3 separate regions of the Homo sapiens genome follow, and all the other regions are linked to region 1. Evidence: promoter capture Hi-C in 16 types of primary human blood cells and fetal thymus (Javierre and others, 2016). All regions are on one chromosome and are shown on one strand. The core of a region is centred on a gene start or on the middle of the fragment in contact, and the rest is flanking DNA. Distances in the headings are between cores, read along the strand shown. Region 1 holds the start of C2CD5 (C2 calcium dependent domain containing 5). Region 2 overlaps PYROXD1 (pyridine nucleotide-disulphide oxidoreductase domain 1). Region 3 overlaps RECQL (RecQ like helicase).

The links. The method cuts DNA at HindIII sites, captures the fragments that hold promoters and counts their contacts. A CHiCAGO score of 5 or more calls a contact.
Region 2: a contact is called between a fragment that was not itself captured here and the fragment with the promoter of C2CD5 in region 1, in 1 of 17 cell types (non-activated CD4 T cells). The highest score is 7.3, in non-activated CD4 T cells.
Region 3: a fragment that was not itself captured here is called in contact with the fragment with the promoter of C2CD5 in region 1 in 1 of 17 cell types (total B cells); the score reaches 6.2 in total B cells.

Annotation. Positions count from the first base shown.
Region 1 is chr12:22,542,827-22,546,363 of GRCh38, forward strand. It overlaps C2CD5 (C2 calcium dependent domain containing 5), which reads right to left and starts at 1,716. Exons shown (of 27, transcript NM_001286176.2): 1 at 1,494-1,716; 2 at 1,235-1,353. The coding sequence starts at 1,324. RefSeq lists enhancers at 1-476, 1,617-1,846 and a silencer at 1,357-1,476. The HindIII fragment of the contact is 7,848 bases long and covers 1-3,537 here.
Region 2 is chr12:21,456,676-21,460,212 of GRCh38, forward strand. The region is part of intron 7 of PYROXD1 (pyridine nucleotide-disulphide oxidoreductase domain 1); the gene reads left to right. Among named protein-coding and RNA genes, the nearest start is that of PYROXD1, 21 kb to the left of the region's middle. The HindIII fragment of the contact is 2,267 bases long and covers 432-2,698 here.
Region 3 is chr12:21,482,011-21,485,547 of GRCh38, forward strand. RECQL (RecQ like helicase) reads right to left here. Exons shown (of 15, transcript NM_002907.4): 6 at 1,366-1,564. Among named protein-coding and RNA genes, the nearest start is that of RECQL, 18 kb to the right of the region's middle. The HindIII fragment of the contact is 2,051 bases long and covers 741-2,791 here.

The sequences.
Region 1 (3,537 bases), core at 466-2,965:
CAGGACTGTTGTGAAAACTAAGAATTTAAAAGTACTTAGTACAGATCTGGCAATTATTAAATTCAACACGTTACCTATTAGTTATTAAATAGGCTGTGTGGGTCAATGTCTGAACTACCGGAAAGCAAACACTATGTTTTAGTTATTTGTGGATTCCTATCACCTAACATCTGGCACAAGAGCACTCAAGAACTTTCTCAAATGAAGTGATTAAGAATCACCATGACAATGGGCAGGGGAGGCAGTGAACTGTAATTATTCGGTTAGAGAACATTTAGGAAACATCAGGAATATTGAGATGAAATCGAGCTATATATTATGATATATCTATCCATCAATTCTAAGCACTAATAGCCCAAATGATTGCTGCTCTAATGCTCTGGCTCATCACGCCAATTTTTATTACAATCTTTACTTGGCTTCTTTCAGACTCTGGGTTATTACCTTCCGGCCGTAGGCCTTTACTAATTTGCATGACTTTTAAACTAATCATTAGACTTAAAAAGCAATTTTGCAATTTAAGTCCATGGCAATTAAATGACTTCCTACCTCAAGGCGCTAAATTACCCTGAAACACCTCATCAGACCTACCAGCCTATACAAGAGCAGGAAGTGTTGCAGTTGTGTTTTAGAACGTGCATGGCAGATTCACAAAATGTTAGGCATGAGAGTGGATTTCCTCGCACTGTGGGACTCCAAGTGCCCATAAAGGGCTTCATGCACCTTCTTAAACATGATGTCCAGCACTCTGGCCACCCCTTCCAAGGGTGTGTGTGTGCCTGTGTGTGTGTGTGTTTCAGTGGCTGCGGGGCCACACCTTGGGATCTCCTGAGTGGCAGGTGGCCTGTTAATGAGTCCTGACATCAGAGTCATTCCGGCATTTGTGTGTGTGTGTGTGTATGTGTGTGAGTGTGTCGGTGGCTGCGCGGCCACGCCTTGGGATCTCCTGAGTGGCAGGTGGCCTGTTAATGAGTCCTGACATCAGGGTCACCCCCGCATGCACAACAGTACAAGCCTCCCCGCGCAGCGGACTGTGCCGCGGACGCCTGCAAGCCGTGCACCCATCGCACACACTGAGGTCTCGGCGGTCATCCCTCGTGGGAGAGCTGGACAACCACGGCCGAAGGGAGGGCAGTCGAGGGGGGAATAGGCTGAGGGGCTGGGGGCGAGGTGGGTAGATCCTTCACAGGGCTTGGCGCTCCCTGTGTTTTGAGGGGCAGGACCCTGCACCAACCTCCACGAAGGCATCAGTCAGGTCACTAGCACGGTCCATCACTGGCAAATGGCGCCCGGCCACGATTTTCACCTTCAGCTTCCCTGGCATGGTCTCGGTTTCGGCCTCTTCTTGGGCTCCTGCAGAAACAAACAAACGAGTCTGCGCCGAGCGCGGGGCCGGCGGGAGAGGGGCGGAGGCGCGCGGGGTAACTGACAGCGAAGGAGCGCGCGGGGGCGCGCGCGGGCGCCCGGCAGTCGCGCCACGGGTCGCCACTCACTGTCGCAGGAGGAAGGGTGCTGTCCCGCGCGGGTGCTGAGACCTCATTCCGGAGAGGCGGCGGGAGGAAGGGCTTTGATGGGTTCTTCCGTCCCGGCCCCACAAGGCTGGGACGAAAAGCAAAACCCAGTCAGCATCCCGTTGAGCCTCTGCCGCCCCTGCTTGTCTCTCCTCCCCCGCTCTCAAAAATGGCGGCTCTCGGGGCGCGGAAGAAAGCATCGATCGTTCGGCGCTCTGCCCACTTGGCGGGGCGAAACTAAACTCGCCGAGGAAAGATAAGGGGGCGGGGCTGACGTTGAGAAAGCTGGAGGGCAGGGAAATGGGCCGAGTCCTGCATCATCCACCGAGTGGGGGCTGTGGATAGGTGCGGCGCTGCTTCCCTGGAGGGAAACGCTCCATCTTGCGGGCCGAAGCGCGAGTGCTGCTCTGTGACAGCCTCCGGCCGCGGCCTTCCCAGCTGCTACCGCCGCTTTTCGGATGGGCTGTGATAGATGGAGTAGCAGCGAAGACTGCTAGAAGAGCGTTTTCAGTCGGCCTTTAGTGATTCGTAAAACCAAATTAGCTGGTTTCTACTTGGAAGGGGTACAGGTGCGTGTGGTGGTTCCAGTTTTCTGTGAAATAGAGTTAGATGGCCAGGCACAGTGGCTCACGTCTGTAATCCCAGCACTTTGGGTGGCCGAGGCGGGCGGATCACCTGAGGTCAGGAGTTCAAGACCAGCCTGGACAACATGGCGAAACCCCGTCTCTACTAAAAATACAAAAATTAGCTGGGCGTCGTGGCGAGCGCCTCTAATTCCAGCTACTCAGGAGGCTGAGGCAGGAAAATCGCTTGAACCTGCGAGGCGGAGGTTGCAGTGAGCCGAGATCACTCCTCTGTCTCCAAAAAAAGAAAAAAAAGAAAGAAAGAAATAGAGATACCAGGCACATCTCGAATAGTGAAATAAATATTTAGTGAAATATTTTATTCAGTCATAGGCACTTGTGTTGTGCACTGGGTCACAGATATTACTGTGGGCGGGGTGGGGGAGGTCACCTTGAAATCCAAAGTCTCCTCTTGAAAAAAAGTTTCTGCTGGTAGGTGTGGTGGCTCAGATTTGTAATCCCAGCACTGTGGGAGGCTGAGGTGGGAGGATCGATTGAGTCCAGGAGTTCGAGACCAGCCTCATGGAGACGAGGCAACACAGTAAGACCCCTTCTTTACAAGAAATGCAAAAATTAGCTGGGCCGGTGGCTCGTCTGTGGTCTCAGCTACCTAGGAAGCTGAGGTGGGAGAATCTGGGAGAATTGCTTGAGCCCAGGAGTTTGAGGCTGCAGTGAGCTGCCATCTCACCACTGCACCCCAACCTGGGCAACAGAGCAAAACTCTGTCTCTTAAAAAAAATTTTTTTTTAATTAAATGTCCTGCACTCTTAGATCATCTCAGTGTTCTTATTAAGCATCCACAAGCCTAAAGATAAGACCTACAGTAGTAGCAGAAGTTCAGGACTTCCTACCATGGAAAGTATAGTCAACCACAAGAAATAAACATGGAGAGCGTTAAACATCTTGAAGAATTGACCCAACTATAAATAAAGTAAGGTGTTATCTACAGGCTCAGACCATATTAGGGAAATTGAGGCACACACAAGATGTAAATAAATCAGTCCTTACCAAATATCAAAATCAGCATTGACAGTATACCCAGTATCAACAAAATCAGAGTTCATGCCGGCTCAAAGATTGTAACATTTCATTCCTAAGTGAAGATATCCGTATGATCTTTTTAACTTCGAAAATACTCAATAGAGTAAATACTCCAAACAGTAGTGATCCCGAATTATCTTTTCATGACAAAAATTCCTTCTATGGCAGGAATATTGTTCACATAAGTGAGAAATTGAACTCCTACAGAGAAAACGACTTCCTCAAAATAAAAATCTAAAAAAATCGCTTGCTTTTTGGACTAGAGAAACTTTTATCAATTCAAACTATGTCAAAGGAATAGGGGTCATAGATCCCATGCGAATTTCCTTAGGTCCACCTGCAGCTTTTTCTGGAGTCTGACT
Region 2 (3,537 bases), core at 315-2,814, 1.1 Mb before region 1:
GCAATTTCTTAAAATAACAAGTTTGCCCCATCAATTGACTCTTCCTCTCGTGAAAGACTTCTCTGTAGCGTGCGAAGCTGTTTTATAGCATTTTGCCCAGAGTAGAAGTTCTTTCAAAAGTCAATTCTCTCAAACTCTGCTACTGCTTTACCAAGTATATGTAATATTTTAAATCCTTCATCATTTCAGCAATACTCACAGCATCCTCACCAGAAGTAAACTCCATCTCAGATAACTACGTTCTTTGCTCATCCATGAGAAACAACAACTCATCTTTTCAAATTTTATCATGAGATTGCAGCAATGTAGTCTCATCTTCAGGATTCATTTCTAATTACAGTTCTTTTGTTATTTCCACCATATCTGCCTTTCTCCATTGAAATCTTGAATCCCTCAAAGTCATCCATGAAGGTTGGAGTAAACTTCTTTCAAGCTTTTGTTAATGTTGATATTTTGACTTACTCCCTTGAATCATGAATGTTCTTAATAACATCTAGAATGGTGAATTCTTTCCAGAAGGTTTTCAATGTACTTTTCCCAGATCCATCAGATGCATCACTATCTGTGGCAGCTATAGCCTTATGAAATGCATTTCTTTAATAAGACTTGAAAGTAAGAATTACTCCTGGATCCATGGGCTGCAGAATGGATATTGTATTAGCAGGCATGAAAACAACATTCATCTCCTTGTGCATCTCTGTCTGAGTTCTTGGGTGACCAAATGCCTTGTCAATGAGTGTAGTATTTTGAAATGAATCTTTTTTTTTTTTTTTCTGAGCAGTAGGTCTCAATGGTGGGCTTCAAATATTCAGTAAACTATGTAAACAGATGTGCTGTGTATTACTCCATTCTCACAGTATATAAAGAAATACCTGAGAGTAGGTAATATTTATAAAGAAAAGAGGTTTAATTGGCTCATGGTCCCACGGGCTGTACAGGAAGCATGACTGGGGAGGCCTCAGGAAACTTTCAATCACGGGGGAAGGGGAATTATGCACTTCTTACATGGCCAGAGCAAGAGGAAGAGAGAGAAGGGGGCTGGTGCCACACACCTTTAAACAACCAGATCTCATGAGAACTCTAACATGAAAACAGCACTAAGGATGGTGCTAAACTATTAGAAACTGTCCCCATGATCCAGTCACCTCCCACCAGGCCGTACCTCCAACATTGGGGATTACAATTTGATATGAGATTTGGGTGGAGAACCAGGCCCAAACCATATAATGCTGTCATCCAGGCTTTGTTGTTCCATTTACAGAGGACAGGCAGGGTAGATGTAGTATAGTTCTTAAGGGCCCTAGAACTTTCACAGTGGTAAATAGGCATTGGCTTCAACTTCAAGTCACCAGTTACATTATCCCCTAACAGGAGAGTCTGCCTGTCCTTTGAAGCCAGGCATTGACTTCTCCTCTATAGTTGTGAAGGTCCTAGATAGCATCTTTTTCCACTGGAAGGCTGTTTCATGTACACTGAAAATCTACTGTTTAGTGTAGCCACATTCATCAGTTATCAATTGTATATTTTTGTTGTAGAGATGGCTTCTTTACTTAAACATCATGAACCAACCTCTACTAGCTTCAGCCTTTTCTTCTGCAGCTTCCTCACTTCTCTCAGCCTTTACAGAATTGAAAACAGTTAGGGGCTTACTCTGGGTTAGGCTTTGGCCTAAGGGAATGTTGTGGCTGATTTGATCTTCTCTCCACACCACTAAAACTTTCTCCATGTCAGCAAGAAGACTGTTTCGCTTTCTCATCATTCATGTGTTCATTGGAATACCACTTTAGATTTACTTCAAGAATGTTTCCTTTGCATTCACAATTTGGCCATCTGTTCAGGGCAAGAGGCCTGGCTTTCCATGTGCCTTCCTCAATAACCCTAATAATCATTGCTACCTTTTGATTTAAAGTGAGAGATGTGTGATCCTTACTTTCACTTGAACACTTAGAGGCCACTACAGAGTAACTGATTGCCCTGGTTTCAATATTCTTGTGTCTCCGGGAATAAGGAGGCCCAAGGAGAGGGAGAGACATAGGACAACAGCTGGTTGATGGAGCAGTCAGAACACAGAACATTTATCGATTAAGTTCACTGTGTTAGATGGGTGTGGTTCATGACACCCCAAGACAATTACAGTAGTACATCAAAGATTACTAATCACAGATCACCATAAAAGATCTAATAATGATGAAAACTGAAATATTGCAAGAATTACCAAAATGTGACAGAGACACAAAGTGAGCACATGCTATTGGAAAAATGGCACTGATAAGACTTGCTTGATGTGGGTTTGTCACAAACCTTCAATTTGTAAAAAACACACTATCTGCAAAACAGTAGTGAAGCACAATAAAATGTTGTGTCTGCAGTTTTCTGGCACACAACTCCTAAAATTTTTGGCATCTCCAAAGTGATGTGTCCTTTTGTATGCTAACGAGTTGACTGGTTAGCCCCTAGGTGGCTTCAGAATGGGGACTGGTCACAGGAAAGACCAAGACATGATTAGAGTTTAGACTTTCCAACCTACAGGAAGGGAAAGAGGTTGAAGGTTAAGCCAATCACTAGCAGCCAGTAATTTAATCAGTCACCTACATAACACAGTTTCCATGAAAACCCAAAAGGACTGGGTTTGGAGAGCTTCTGGATAGCTGAACATGTGGAAGTTGCTAGAGGGTGGTCTATCTGGAGAGGGCATAGAAGCTTCATGCCCCTTCTTATATGCTTTGCCTTATGTATTTCTTCATCTGTTTCTTCGTGACATCCTTGATAATAAACCAGTAAATGTAAGTAAAGTGTTTCCCCAAATTCTGTGAGATATTCTAATAAATTAATTGAACCTAAGAAAGGGGCTCGTGGGAGCCCCTTGATTTATGGTTGGTTAGTCAGACCAACTGGTAAAACACCCGGGGCATGCAATTGGTATTGGAAGTGGAAGACAGTCTTGTGAGATTGATCCCTCAACATGTGGGACCTGATGCTATCTCCAGGTAGATAATAACATCAGAACTGAATTGAATTAGAGGACAGCCAGATGGTGTCCTGTGCAGAATTAATTGCTTGCTTAGTGTGTAGAAAACACCCCACACACATTTGGTCACAGAAGTATTCTGTGTTGTGAGACTATAGTAGGAGAAACTGAGTTTGTTTTTTCCTATATCCTCAGATCAGGGATAGAGCTTTCTATACCCAGACTACAGTGAATACTCCTGTCCTATTTTAAATTAATCTTTTCTCAAAGGTCACTTCAGATGCATGCAGTAAACTTACAAAAGTTATTAGATGGATTGGAAATACACACTTAATACCCTAATTGGATAAGGAGATGATTTGCTTTTCCTCATTTTGTTAGATATTTTGATTTTTTAATAGTTGTTAAAGGGCTGTGAAATCTAAATGCTGTAAGAAGCATGCATGCAGTCCTTCGTTACTTTGTGTGATTTCTTTAGAGCATTGGTTTTTGGCTTTCAGTAGGTAGGAGGGGAGCTGGCTGCACGGTGTATCTAATTTTTGTGATGGAAATTACACAAAGTCCCTTCT
Region 3 (3,537 bases), core at 516-3,015, 1.1 Mb before region 1:
CAGAATGGGTTAAAGGTGAAAAATGGAGATGGTAAGCTGAGAAGTCTGATGGTGACAGAAAGAACAGAAAGAGGACAGTAACATTAAAAGGTCAGAAGGGTGTTTTAGTTTCTGTTTTTAGGGAGAGGACAAAAGAGCCTGAAGGTGAAGGAGTGAGGAATTTGGCAGTGCAAGATCTTAAGAAGGCAGGAAAGGATGAAACGGGAGTGGTCATGGTTAGCCTTATAAAGCAGTGGTCTTTTCTGCCTTAACAAAAGAAAAAAAAAAAAGATTACTAATGTTTGAAAGTAGAAAGAGGAGCTGTTCATACCTGATGGCATCTATTTTCTGTGAAGCAGAAAGCATCTGCTAAGTACAAGTTAGGGCCTGAATAGAAAGTTAATGATAGGAGACATTTGTTGGAAGAAATGTATAAAGGAGTTGAAATAGGGACAAGTATAAGGACGGCTGAGGATAATGAAAAGCTGAATGGAGTTATGCAATTTTTGTTTTTTTGACAATGTTTAGTAGCCAAGCAGCAGGAATGGGGAAAGCCAAAGTCTAGATGAATCCAGCATCTCAGGCACAACGCCTGAAGCAGACTGGCAGAATGGCCAGGCAGTCCAGGGCAAATATAACAGAAGTAAGGGGCAACAGCACAGTGTCTGGACGGGAAACAGAGTGATTGCTATGTAGGGACAGGAGCCTGGATAAATAAGCAGGGATTAAAAGAGGGATCCAGCAAATCCTAATGTGTGAAAAGCTTCAGAAGGAAAACAGGTTGAAGCCAGGGAGTCGGATTTTTGAATTTAAGATTTTTTTGCATATAACAATTCTGAGTAACTTACTTTAGGCTATGACTGTAGGATTAGGTGGTGGGGTGAAGAAAAAGGTCACTAAAAATATCTCATCAAAGTTTCATGCTGAGGAGTTGTATGTGGGTGCTGAAAAGACCCTCAGAATGATGACTAAAGATGACAACTTTGAAACAGATGCAAATTCTTCAACAAATGTGAAGGAATACCTAGATGTCATAAATGCCACAAAGATGTCCACTATTGGCTAGTAAACATATGTGTCCATATTTGTCCATAATTGACAAGGGCAATTAAACTACAGACTACAGTGGGGAATGAAACTAAACATTCTGCCTCTCAGTCCTCCTCATAATGAGGCAAGATAAAATAAGTAATACAGGTTGATCATCCCAAATCCAAAAAAATCCAAAATTTAAAACCCTTTTGGTTCCGAACATTCTGGATAACGGATATTCAATGTGTAACTACTTGAGGATGATTTTAATAGAAGCAGAGATTTCCATCATGCCAAGCTGAGTAAGGACACGGTCTATGACATCAAAAAGTTTTCTAGATAAAACATACATACCAGGTCTGAAATCATGTCCCCACTGACTACAGCAGTGAACTTCATCCACAGCAATTCGAGTAAATCTCCTTGCTTCATAGGCTTTCTCTAGTCTTGACATAAACATTTTGCTTTTTGCAATTTTCTCTGGAGTCACATAAATCAGCTTTAACTCGGAGTTTTTATTTACCATTTCAGCATGAACCCATTTAACATGCTCCTATTAAAAGAAAAAAATAGACACAATGATAGTAAAACTAAGCTAGCAGACTGAAATACTAGGTGGTAAATGAAAACGTTCATTTCTCCAAAGCAATAATAGCCTTTGGCTCTTCTAGGAGCAGATGTTTAGTTCATTAAAACTGAAACCATGTCTCAGTACGAAACATCATGGCAGCTGTGTAAATAGCATTCTAGTTATTTACTAACGTCTACATTGTTGATGACTAAAAAAAACTCACTTGACAAAAAAGAACACAAACAGATACTCCAATGAAGAGCATTTATTCTATGAAGGCATAATCCTAAATTGTTCATAATATATTCTAAAATGTGAGCTAGATGCAATTGTTATGGTTATAAAGGTGGGTTTTATTAATTTTAACATTATATTTATAATCCCTTTATGTATGTGAACAAAATTTATTATTTATTAACTTCTCAAATGATACCATCAAATCTTTTAATCTCTTTATTTAAATATAAAGACCATGGGGTTTCACAAAGTATCACTCATTAAATTAAGATAATAATAATAAATCTTAAAAGGTAACAGTTATTAGATTCTTAGTACTCATACAATTCTATACAATACTTAGCATATTAGATGTCATTTTTTTTCCTTCTAATCTAAAGAGGACCAAAAAAGTATAAAAACATGCCAGTGAATGAGATAGAAAGAGACAGTCAAACTACTTTCATCATCCCAGCAAAGAAGCAGTTTGTTAACTCCTAGATATATTCTAGGATACAGATGTTCTTTTTTTCTCTCTCCAACTTTCAAGAGTAGGGATATATCATGAACTTGTAATTATCTGCAACTTTCTAAATTACTTTCTATTACTATTATGTTCTTTTTCAATTTTAAGAAAGTACATTATTAGAAGGCAGTTTTCTCCACAGATTGATTTTGTTGGAGGAAGGAGCAGTTATAATAGAATGACATGGAGTTTAAATAAAACAAAAATATATGGGTAAACTAAAGGAACCAGGGCTTCTTAGAGGTATGGCTGACTCTAGGTCTGGGCAGGAAATGCATAAAATGAACATGGATTATCTTACTGCAAAAGAAAGCAAGGAACAGAAGCAATGGGGTTAAGAGAAAGGATTCAGGAACCAACTTAAAGAGGCTCTCACTGCCCAAGGACAGGACTATTTCAGCATTACATATATACATATTGATATATATATATATATGATTCCAAAGGTGAATCATATTATACGTCAAAGCTTGTAAGTTTATAGTGATACTTGGGGAAAGAAAACCTTAAAAATCTTGTTGACCACCTTTGGAGAATGCTAGAAAACCAACTCTTTCTGAAAACTCATAAAGAAAGGGAAAAAAAAATCAAGCATTTTCATCATGCAGAGTTAATGAGGAAAAAGTTTATTTTTGTAGAAAAAGTATAACTAATACATGAAGAAAGAGTGACAGAATTAGATATCACCATTTTGCACCTCCCTAATGAAATCATGGCTCTCACGGTGCCACTCAGTGGCTGCTAAAACCATTAGATGAAAAACTGATAACCAGAGATCAGGCAGACATCACTTGAACCCACTGACGCTTAGCATCACAAAAAGATAACCAGGTACTATGTACCACTTGAGTGATACCACAGTAAGTATACTCTTGCAAAAAAAAAAAAAAAAGTTAAAGAAAAATTCCAAATACAATCAGGCTTTTAGATCTAACTAAAAGGATCCAGTTACCTATGTAACAAACCTGCACATCCTGCATATGGACCCCAGAACTGAAAAAAAAAAAAAGAAAAAGAAAGAAAAGAAAAGAAAGAGAGAAAGAAAGAACACCACAAGGACGCAATCAGGAAAATGTAGAAAGATACAGGACAGTTAACCCAGTTTCTTCAACAAAGAATTTGCATGGGAAATATAAAAGATATAAAGAGAACCTATGGGTATATCAACCAAATACAATACAATGCATGAATATTATCTGGGCTATATTTTTTT